Linked DNA regions of Homo sapiens: regions 2 and 3 are each linked to region 1. Evidence: promoter capture Hi-C in 16 types of primary human blood cells and fetal thymus (Javierre and others, 2016). All regions are on one chromosome and are shown on one strand. Each heading gives the region's core, a stretch centred on a gene start or on the middle of the fragment in contact. The rest is flanking DNA. Distances are from core to core; before and after follow the strand shown.

Region 1 (3,608 bases), core at 454-2,953:
ATGAGGTGTTGTTATGTTGCCCAGGCTAGTCTCCAACTTCCGGGCTCAAGTGATCCTCACTCCTCGGCCTCCTAAAGTGGTGGGATTACAGGTGTGCACCACCGTGCCCTCCCTCCCAGCCATTTTGTTCAGTTTCCCAGGCTTTCTTTTGCTCCCTCAAGGCCTTTACTGAGTTCAGCCTGCAGAGAACGCTTTCTCCCACTGAAACTCACCCCAATTTATCCCCCTTAGACCTCTTTCCAAAAGCTACTTCCTCAAAGAAACCTCTGTGACCCTTGGAAAGTTATTTGTTTTCACAGCATCCTGCACTTCTCTCTCATAGCACTTATAACTATAATCAACCAAGTAATAATGTAACCAGTTATCTTAATATTGATCTTCTCTGCTAGGAAGTAAACTCAATACATGTAAGGACAGAATGTCTTGTACCTCAGTGCCTACCAGCATACTTGATATACAAGAGCACAAAAAACATTTTCTGAATGATTGTATGACTACATGCATGCCTGACTAAAAAGGCGACAATACTTTTTACATTAAATTTAACAAGTTTAACTTCTTTTTGCGTTTTCAAATTACTCCACAAAATTACACGAGAAAAATGAATTCCTTCAAACTTAAATCCTACTATATTAAACTATATTAAAAGTCTATCACATAAAATTCACTTCCACAAGGATTTAACTCTAACAAAATAAGCATGTGAGATTAAATATACCCGTTATAGAGATGAAAAAAAGGTTCAAGTGGTTTAACTCACGCATTTAATATAAAGGAAACAATTCCTAGAATTCAAGTCTCTTGGCGGTATTATTCCTGCATACTAGCTATTTTTCATGTGGGGCAATTTTTACCTGATTCAAAGATTTCCCCAAAATAAAGATATCACAAAAACTGATGTAAATATGGTTAAGTCTTTTATCTCAACTAGTTTGAAGTTTTAATTATGTGCATTTGGGCTTAAGTAGATTTTTAGGTTTAAAAAAAGACGTTAACCAAAGCAAGTCACTCAACTTTAAACTTTCACTTTATGACATCATATCTACTAGAGATTTCATTTTACATGTCGCTTTCCCCCAATTTTTAAATGTCCCCTCGATTTACAAATATGAGATGACATATAGCACCTACGACATTTTTTCATAGCAGCCTACCAAGTAGATGTAGTCCTTCACATAAAAATAATGGCAGTGGGCGACCACTCCGTCATGTCTGAGGGTTTTGTTTTTCTTAAACATCACCGTGCCCAAGGGTCAGATGTTCTGGCTGCTTTCAGGGATCAATTACAACCACGTTTGCAATACCTACATTTCTGGGTAATGACTGTGCTAGAACATGAAGAGATTCTCTTTTCTACTTACTCCACAAATGCCCTGGAGCAAAGGCACAGTATCTTACAATCCTCCCGCTCCTCAATGAAGAGAAACATTTCCGCCACGCGGCTCCACTTCTCGCAGCACATTTTACCACTTCGGAGGCAGCTCTGACGTACGCAGCCCGGGTCGCGCCTGCCGGGCCTCCGCTCGGTTACTGGAGACTTAAAACAGGCCTCGCCCGCAAGCCCTGGATGAGGAGATAGAAACTGGCCCGCGGCCGCTCGCGCCGGGAACTAGCCCGGACGCTGCCGCCGGAAGTGGCTCCGAGGGGCCACGGGAAGGGGCGGGACCACGGGCGGTGTCACCCCCATCGCGGCCCGGGCTGCAGCCGCCGCTTGGCTTCTTTCACACGGGTTGCTTCGGAGGAATCCGCCGTGCAAATCTGTCCGCCCCCTTGGCCACTGATCCCCCGAAGAGCTTCTGTCGCCGCTCTAGGGTAAAGGAGAGCTGCCCCTGCCCCTGCCCCCGCCTATCCGAGGTGCGTCGGCCCCCGCGCTTCTCCAGCCCGGCATCGGGTCTGGCGGGACTGGGAGCGGCGGAGGCCGCGCGCGTCCGGTCTCCCAGGAGCCGCCTCGGAATCCCCAGTCTCTTCGCGGGCAGGCTCGGCTTCCCGCCGGCCTCAGTGTTGCGCCCCAGCGCCAGAGTGGCCGGGTGTGGAGATCCTCCCTCCTCTGGGTCAAAGAGCCTGCTCTCCCCGCCCCTCTTCTCCCCTGGCGCTCTAAACCTTCGGTTCGGCGCGTTTCATCCTAATGCATCTGGTGGGGCGAGGCGTCTCTAGCCTCTGTAGAGGCCTCTAGGCTTGCCCAGTGGCTTCGCTGGTTCCGGGACCCAGGTCGAGCCTCCGGTGTAAAAGCCAAGGGGAAGTGTGTGGTGATCCCGAGAGTGTAGGGGGAAAGCCGCGTGGGTAGAGCGTTCGTATCCAGACCGATCAGGCTTGGAATCCTGGTCCTACCTTGTGACCTGGGCAGGCAACTTCACCTTTCTGAGCTTACCTTTGATCACCTGTGAAATGGGGTTGATTAATAGTAACTACTACATGAGGCTGCAGGGAGGACTAAACGAAATGATGTATATTACACCTTTCCTTTGTGCGCTTAATCGTTGGCGTCGGTTTGGACCTTGTAGGCGTTAAGTGCTGTCTCGGTCCCTGGGGTTTGCAGCCTGTAAAACAGGTCTCTGCCTTCAAGTTACTAATTATCTAATAAGAAAAAAGTTCATGTGGGCATAAATAGGATGGAGAAAATGGAAACAGCAGCGTTGCTGGATCTGTTAAAAAGCAGTTAGTATTTGGTGTGTGGTATTCATGGAGGCTGCACGGGCAACTTCTTCAGAGACAAGCTCAGACTTGAAAGTTGGAGCGCTTCGGACGTGGTTGGTGCTACGAAATGCCAAAATAGTATTGGTACTTCTTCAGAACTATATAAAAACTGAGCTAAAATTCATGCATTTTGAATGGTATTTTCAATAGTATTTTGGCCACATTTACTAGTTAGTGGAAATATTCATTTTCAAATGTTTATTCCCACCTCCTTACTGCTGCCCTACTTTGAGGTCGGAGATAGGCTGATTTTGTTGGTTCAAGAAGGTAAGAGTGCTGCACGGTTACAGATATACCAGTATAGATGTGCAGCATTATTGGGATGAGTAGCTGGGTTACGATAATAAGGGTAGAACAGTAATTATGAAACAGAGTGGAAGATTTTAGCTAGAAGTTGGGCATTCTAGGATTAAAGAAAAGTCTTGAAGGGTAATTTGTATCAGAACCTCGAGTTTAAAGCTTGAAATAAAAAAAGTATTAAAGCTAAAAGGATTAGATTTACCAGCTATCTTGACAAATACTAAATTGCAGCTTTATTCATGGTTTGAAGTAGAAGTCCTATTCAGTAAAACAGTGCTGTATCTCTGTTAAACCATTATTAAATATGCAGAAAGGAAACAGGAAAACTTGTTTTTCAGTGACTATATCTTTTAATTGGCATTTTCAGAATGTTCTCAATGTGACTTATATACTAAAAGTAAAATGGAAAAGTACTGGTAATGGGTGTTCAAAATAGATATACTTTATTTATTTATTTATTTATTTTTTTTGAGACAGGATCTTGCTCTGTCACCCAGGCTGTAGTGTAGTGGCGCGATCGCGGCTCACAGCAACCTCTACCTCCCAGGCTCAAGCAATCCTCCTACCTCAGCCCCCCGAGTAGCTGGGGCTACAGGCATGCCACCATGCCTGCC
Region 2 (3,608 bases), core at 756-3,255, 3.9 Mb after region 1:
CATAATTGCTCTGTTCATCAACCTAGAGCCAAGAAGAATCCATACATATGAATTATCATTTCAGTGCCTGGACTTACTACTGTGGTTCAGTATCTGACCAAGAAAGACAGGTTTACTGACCAAAGCCTTTTTCATCTTCATTTCAGAATTCAAATGTCATACTTAAAAACACACATACATACATATAATGTGCACACACACACACACATAAACACAGTAACTTCATTTACACTATGAATCACTAAAGCAGACTCTGAAATGGTTTCACCTAACTACAGTAATAGTTATATACAGCATAATTTTTAGTTCTAATACAAGGTACTTGCGTCAGCTACATTTACATAAAAGTGAACACTTAAGTTTTGGCTCCTTGCTGGCTGTTGCATCCAATCTAATGACCACCAAAATCTGGCTGCAGTCTATCTTTCTAGGCTTAGCTCCCATTATCCTTTTTGCATTCTATGTTCTAGCTAAATCAGATTAATCTCTGCTCTTTGAAAACAAATGATCTATGTAAGCGTTATTCTTTTATATTCCATGTTCCTAAAATAGCTATTCTCTTTATCTCCATAATTCAAAAATTCTATTCAAATTTCAAAGCTTGATTCAAATTTGACTTCTGCCATGGAACACTACTATGGAGCAAGAGTATTTTATTTGTACCCTTACTATTATGTCAAGGGTCACTTTCCTCCTTCTATTATTTGAATGTAAGTTTATTAAGACAGAAGCTATATCATATATTATTGCAATATCCTCAGCATCTATCATAGTGTCAGAAAATGTTTATTGAACTTTAATAGATTCTTTAAAAAATATTAAATTTTACATATACATTAAAAAGATGTTTATCCACAGTTTTGATGCACTTAAGTTTACAAGCAGAAGTTTTCCTTTTTCTCCACTCCATGATTCTGTTTTTTAAGAAGCAGAATTTTTAATAAAGGAAAGATATTTATATAGATTAAGCACCATATAAGAGTAATTTTAACTTGTGAGTTAAAGTCACTTTTTGTTTACTGTAGACAATAAATTATAAATGCTTATTTTTCTAAAAGAAATTCATTTTTTGATAACTTATATTTCCTTTTATTGGAAGATTATCCTAGCATTAAAATCTATGTAATTGAGGGATTATATGTGCAATTTAAAATAAAATTATGCTTTCCCAAAGTCATTTAATCCTATTAATTGTCAAGTGAATATTTCAGAAATTACTGACCTTTTTAATACTGAAAATGAAATCTGCCTGTGCAGACTACATCCAATTAGAAACTAACTCCTGGGCTCAAGTAATCCTCCCATCTCAGCTTCTGGAATAGCTGGGACTACAGGCATGCATCACCACACTCAGGTAATTTTTAAATTTTTTGCAGAGATGAGGTCTCACTATGTTGCTCAGGCTGATCTTGAAATCTTGCAACTTCTGAGCTCAAATGATTCTCCCACCTCTGCTTCCTATAGGGCTGGGACTATAGTCGTGAGCCACTGTGCCTGGCCAATGACAATTCTCTTTAAGAGAGAAAATACTTCTGTTTTTGCTTTTTTTTTTTTTGCAGGGGGAGGGGGATGGTGAGGTAGGGGAGGTGATGAATTTAACTGTACTGAAAATGGTACAAGGAAATCAAACTGCAGAAAAAAACAGTTCCACATTTAGTTACATTTTAGTTTTGGGTTTTCCCCAGACATTGCAGGCCAAATTAGAGTTAAGATGAGGAAATCCTTTCAGTCCTCACAGACCAGACTTGGCTTTATAAAACATAATCAAGTCCCACTATACAACCTAGGTGTTAGGAAGCAACTAGAGTTTTCAAGGTAGATCTGGGCAACACGCAGACACCTCCATTTCTGAGGCTGAAGGAAACATGCACCAGTGCTAACTGCCACGCATATGAAAAATGTGAACTCCTAGCACGGTGACAGTAGCTGTATGCTGAATACCATTTAATTTAATAAGCATTTGTTTGTTGAATACCTTATGCATTCAAATAACAGAGCACTTCTGATACAACAATGCTTCAGCCTACACAGTATTCTGAAAGGAGTCCCAAATAGCTCAATTTTACTTTGGGTATTTTCTGCTTAATAATAAAAGTGAAGCAACCTCGTATGAAGAATTAAGTTATTACAGTAAGTGTTATTGCTGTTGCCAGGACCAAACTTACTGTAACAATGTATCAAGAACTCTAGGAATAAACTGTGTGTGGGTTATCTAAATTTATCAAAGTCTAAATAAATCTCTAAATGATTCTAGATGATAATTTAAAATTTAAATTACTCATTCAACAAATGCAGAGTATCAGTGTTGTAGCAGCCACTGTATCAGGCCCTGCAGAGAAATAGTGAGCATACTGGGTATGTGCCCAACTTTCATGATTACAAATTAGTAGGAAGTCACACACAAGAAGTGAATTATAGCCAGACGTGGTGGCTCATGCCTGTAATCCCAACACTTTGGGAGGCCGAGGCGGGTGGATCACTTGAGATCGGAGTTTGAGGCCAGCCTAGCCAACAGGGGAAACCCCATCTCTACTAAAAATACAAAAATTAGCAGGGGGTGGTGGTGCGCTCCTGTGATCCTAGCTACTTGGGAGGCTGAGGCAGAACTGCTTGAAGCCGGGAGGTGGAGGTTGCAGTGAGCAGAGGTTGCCACTGCACTCCAGCCTGGGCAAAAGAGCAAAAGACTCTGTCGCCCCCACCCACAAATGAATTATATGTGTAAGGTATGGAGGCATAATCAGAAATTACGTGAAGGTAGAGATGGGGTGTGCCTACCACAGGAAAATTACAGGTGATAGAGTGCTTTACTTGCTGTTCAACTACTCACCCACAAGACTAGCATTTGGTGTTGTTTATTAAGAAGGTATTTACTAGCAGTCTTATTTAAAAAATGACCTGTGTTTAACTTTCCAGCCGCAGAAGAGAAAAAAGGTCTAGAACCCTGAAAAATTCCCATAGCAGAAGGAAGAAAGTAAAGGAAAATATGCTTTTAAAAAATGGAGAGAAAACAGGGGAAACGGCTGTAAGAGTTGTTTAATGATTTTAGCTATTTTCCTTAGATTACCATTTGTACTTTTTTTGTTTGTTTATGGTAAGATAGTTTTCATGTGCCAAAATTTCTGCTTGGACTAACAGAAAATTCATCCTGTAAGATTGTTATATGATCCCACAACGGTTAGGAGTGCCCTGGGTCCAGGCAGAAATCCAAAGATGGAGCTAATAATGTGACCCGCAGCTCTACTCCAGAATGCAGATGAATAGAGATTTTGAACAGTTCGGAGCTCAATGTCCACTGAATATGCACTCATACTTTAAACCTAAATAAAGTGAAGCCTTTGAGTTAAATGGCAGAGCGCCTCAGCAGCAATTTTGCTCGTTTTCAAGTTCTTATTTCGTGATTTGAAGCTTTTGACCTTGCTAGCATGTTCTTTCTGAACGCTTTTGCAGATGGTTGGTTATGGTGGGGAGTAGTAACCCTAGCATAAAGACGTTCTAATTCTAACTTACCTTAGGTAACCTATAAGGGTAGCTTACGCTCACTCTCATACTTGAAAATCAAAACCGAACAGAATTCACACGATGGAAGCAAATCATGCTACAACCTACTA
Region 3 (3,608 bases), core at 544-3,043, 3.1 Mb after region 1:
TTTCATTCTAACCTATAGAACAATGTGAGGTAGCTAAAGTAGATATTGCCAACACAGTTTCAAAATGAGGAACTTGAATTTATAGATGTTAACTGATTTTCCAAATCCAAATGAAGTCCCAGATTTTCCAACTCCTTAATGCAGCCAACTTATGATGTATGTGTATAAACTATATACACATATTTTAAAAATTAAGGCACATCTGAGAATTATATGAGTTCAAATTAATCCATAATAAGCATACAAACACATAGAAAGCTTTGTGTGTAGATTAGGATTTTTCTGAGGAGCTTATTTCAAGGGAGGGGCGACATCTATTGACAGAAAGAAGATTGAGCAGGACTGTGAGGATTTTTAAAAATTTAGTCTTGTTTCTCAAAGCCATTCCTTGTATTAGAATTCCCCCTAGAACTTATTAAAAAATGAAGAGCCCTGAGCCCTGCCAGTGGTGAAGTGTATTTGACACTCAGAGTAGATAATTTTTTAACATCCCATTCCTCTATAGTTTCAGTAACAATAGAACAACAATAATAGTAATGGTTAGAAAAGAAATTGACAGCAAAATTTTTTAACTGAAACTTTAATCAAGGCAGTCAAAATTTAAAAGTTAAAAAAAAAAAAGCCACACAAATATTACAAAACCAAAAAGAAAAAATCTATACTACTTGATAGTTTTGAGATCTGCCTAGGAGTTTTAACTTTGACCCTTTGTTAAAAAGTCATTTTATGTAAACAATTGTCCAGCAACTAATAAGTGAATTTCAATAACATCTACAAGATATAATTTGTTTCTACTAAATCATATTGATGATAGAGTGTTTTACTTCTTGATTTTTAATTTTAAATGAATAAACAATGAAACCGGATAAATTTCAATTTTAAAGATATTTAAGTTTTGTAAGGTATGTCACACATGAACTAAATTTTGTACTTAGTAAGTGGTTCCACAGAATGACAGAATGAGATGGTAAAATGAGATGGAGTCAAAAACCCACGACTACCTTAAATAGAAGGGACAGAATAGTGACTGTTGGAGAGAATTTGTGGATGCAAATAGGTTTGCAGATTTCAGGGCAGAAGAGGAAGTTCTTTTCTCATGGCTTCTATTTCCTCAGTGTTGTAGGAGGTGAGATTATTTACCAAAGAGAGAACTGGGAAGGGGTGGGAATTAGGGATTCAAGAATAGTGCAGACAATCTGATGGAGAGTAGGAAGAGTGAACTACTAGGGAAACAACACAGAAGGCTGAGGTAGAATTGGAACCCACGTTTCCAGACATTCAGTTCAGTGGTCCTTTTAATACATCATACTGAAAAGGAATGACTATTGGGAAAAGTATTTTGCATGAATGGATAGCAGGTAGGGTTGATTAAAACAAAGGGATCATTTGAGGAAGAAGGCAAAAAAACAAATGGTGTTATTAAAATAAATGGACTTCAGAGAATTGGGAAAAAAGCATTCATTTTATATGATAAACAACAGAACTCGTTTTAAGTTACAAAAGACTAATGGTACATTTTTCAAAAATATGTAGTCTGGAAAATGAAGAAAAATATACACATAGGAAAAATCACTTAGAATTTAATTTTGTACTTACTTAGAAAGCTTTCTTAGACTTCATTAGACACATTTTTATTATATTGCCCATACATAAAAATGAAAATACAAGCAAATTACATTGGTAAAGGTATTTCTAAAATTTCATCACTTTTGAACTATTACTTCCGACTCAGAGATTGTCTGGGTTTTTCCACAGAATTTATCCTTTGCAGCACTGAAAGCACTGGCAACAAGCATTTCCTTACAGAATCCATAAAAGAACTAAAGCTGTGGTGCTAGGTACCTAGCTGTCTTTGGGAATGTTGTACAACACATCTTATTCATCAATTCTCTCACCATTATAGTTTGGATTTTTTTCCAATCTGGTGTTTTTGATGTCTTATAGTAAGCACAGGAAATGGATGGCATTGGTTGACAAGCTTGGAGGACCACTATCCATCCACTGTTAAATGGACCCAGATTTCAGAGATGTTAAAATACGAAACATAGTAAAACAGAGTAGCTTGCTACTTTGTTTTCCTTTGTCTTTAAATATTTTTTGGTTGGGCAGAGTGGTTCACGCCTGTAATCCCAACACTTTGGGAGGCTAAGGTGAAAGGAGAGCCTGAACCCAGGAGTTTGAGACCAGCCTGGGCAACATGGTGAAACCCTGTCTCTACAAAAAATACAAAAATTTGCCAGGCATGGTGGTGGGCATCTGTAGTTACAGCTATTAGGGACAGTGAGGTGGAAGGATTGCTTGAGCCTGGGAGGTTGAGGCTGCAACAAGCCGTGGGTGTGCCAATGCATTACAGCCTGGGTGAGAGAGTGAGACCCTATCTCAAAACAAAAAAAAAATTAATATACATATTTTTACAATTTTTTTAGAATAGGGTCTCACTTTGTTGCCCAGGATGGAGTACAGTGGTGTGGTCATGGTTCACTGTAGCTTTAAACTCCTTGGCTCGAGCAATCCTCCCACCTCAGCCTCCCAAGTAGCTGAGACTAGAGGAGTGCACCACCACACAGAGCTATATTTTTATTTTATTTTTATTTTTATTTTTTTTATTCTCTCTGTCGCCCAGGCTGGAGTGCAGTGGTGCGATCTCGGCTCACTGCAAGCTCCGCCTCCTAGGTTCACGCCATCCTCCTGCCTCAGCCTCCCGAGCACGCCCGGCTAACTTATTTTTGTACTTTTAGTAGAGACAGGGTTTCACCATGTTAGCCAGGATGGTCTCGATCTCCTGACCTCGTGATCCACCCGCCTCGGCCTCCCAAAGTGCTGGGATTACAGGCGTGAGCCACCGCGCCTGGTCTATATTTTTACTTTTATTTTTGTAGAGACAGGGTTTCGCTATGTTGTCCAAGCTGGTCTCAAACTCCTGGCCTCAAGTGATTCTCCTACCTCAGCCTACCAGAGTGCTGAGATTACAGGTGTGAGCCACCATGCCAGGCCTGTTTTAAATATTCTTCTAAAATATAATATTAATGGCTGCATAGTATTTCATTATATAGATGTACCACGTTTTCCCTGAATTCTGAGAAAGGGGTTGATTTTGTCCCTCTGGGAACATTACAAAATGTCCAGAGGCATTTTTGATTGTCATAACTGGGGTGCTACTGGCATCTAGTGGGCAGAAGCCAAGGAGGTTCAACATCCTAAAATGTACAGGACAGCCCCTTATAACAAAGAATTAACTGGTAGGTATGAGATTGAGAAACTCTGTAACCTATTGCTAGACATTTTTTCTTTTTTTGTTTTTGAGACAGGGTCTCACCCTGTTGCCCAGGCTGGAATGCAGCAGTGCAATCTTAGCTCACTGCAACCTCTGCCTCCCAGGCTCAAGCAATCTTCCCACCTCAGCTTCCCAAGTGGCTGGAACTACAGGCGTATGCCACCACATGCCTGGCTAATTTTTTTTTTTTTTTGTATTCTTGGTAGAGATGGGGTTTTGCCACATTGTCCAGGCAGGTCTAGAACTTCTGAACTCAGGGCTATCCACCTGCCTTGGCCTCCCCAAGTGCTGGGATTACTGGTGTAAGCTGGGAGCCACCTTGCTGAGCCAATTT

Evidence for each region. Contacts are between HindIII fragments. The CHiCAGO score rates a contact against its expected background, and 5 or more counts as called.
Region 2: a contact is called between a fragment that was not itself captured here and the fragment with the promoter of TMEM68 in region 1, in 2 of 17 cell types (total CD4 T cells and naive CD4 T cells). The highest score is 7.9, in total CD4 T cells.
Region 3: a contact is called between a fragment that was not itself captured here and the fragment with the promoter of TMEM68 in region 1, in 2 of 17 cell types (non-activated CD4 T cells and naive CD4 T cells). The highest score is 8.4, in non-activated CD4 T cells.

What each region holds. Positions count from the first base shown.
Region 1 is chr8:55,771,473-55,775,080 of GRCh38, reverse strand. TMEM68 (transmembrane protein 68) reads left to right here and starts at 1,703. Exons shown (of 8, transcript NM_001286657.2): 1 at 1,703-1,812. TGS1 (trimethylguanosine synthase 1) reads right to left here and starts at 1,635. Exons shown (of 13, transcript NM_024831.8): 1 at 1,362-1,635. The coding sequence starts at 1,462. RefSeq lists enhancers at 1,197-1,526, 2,298-2,801 and silencers at 1,667-1,856, 1,947-2,076. The HindIII fragment of the contact is 10,724 bases long and covers 1-3,155 here.
Region 2 is chr8:51,900,346-51,903,953 of GRCh38, reverse strand. The region is part of intron 1 of PCMTD1-DT (PCMTD1 divergent transcript); the gene reads right to left. Among named protein-coding and RNA genes, the nearest start is that of PCMTD1-DT, 2.8 kb to the right of the region's middle. The HindIII fragment of the contact is 2,805 bases long and covers 603-3,407 here.
Region 3 is chr8:52,720,977-52,724,584 of GRCh38, reverse strand. No RefSeq gene overlaps it. Among named protein-coding and RNA genes, the nearest start is that of RB1CC1, 8.3 kb to the right of the region's middle. The HindIII fragment of the contact is 374 bases long and covers 1,607-1,980 here.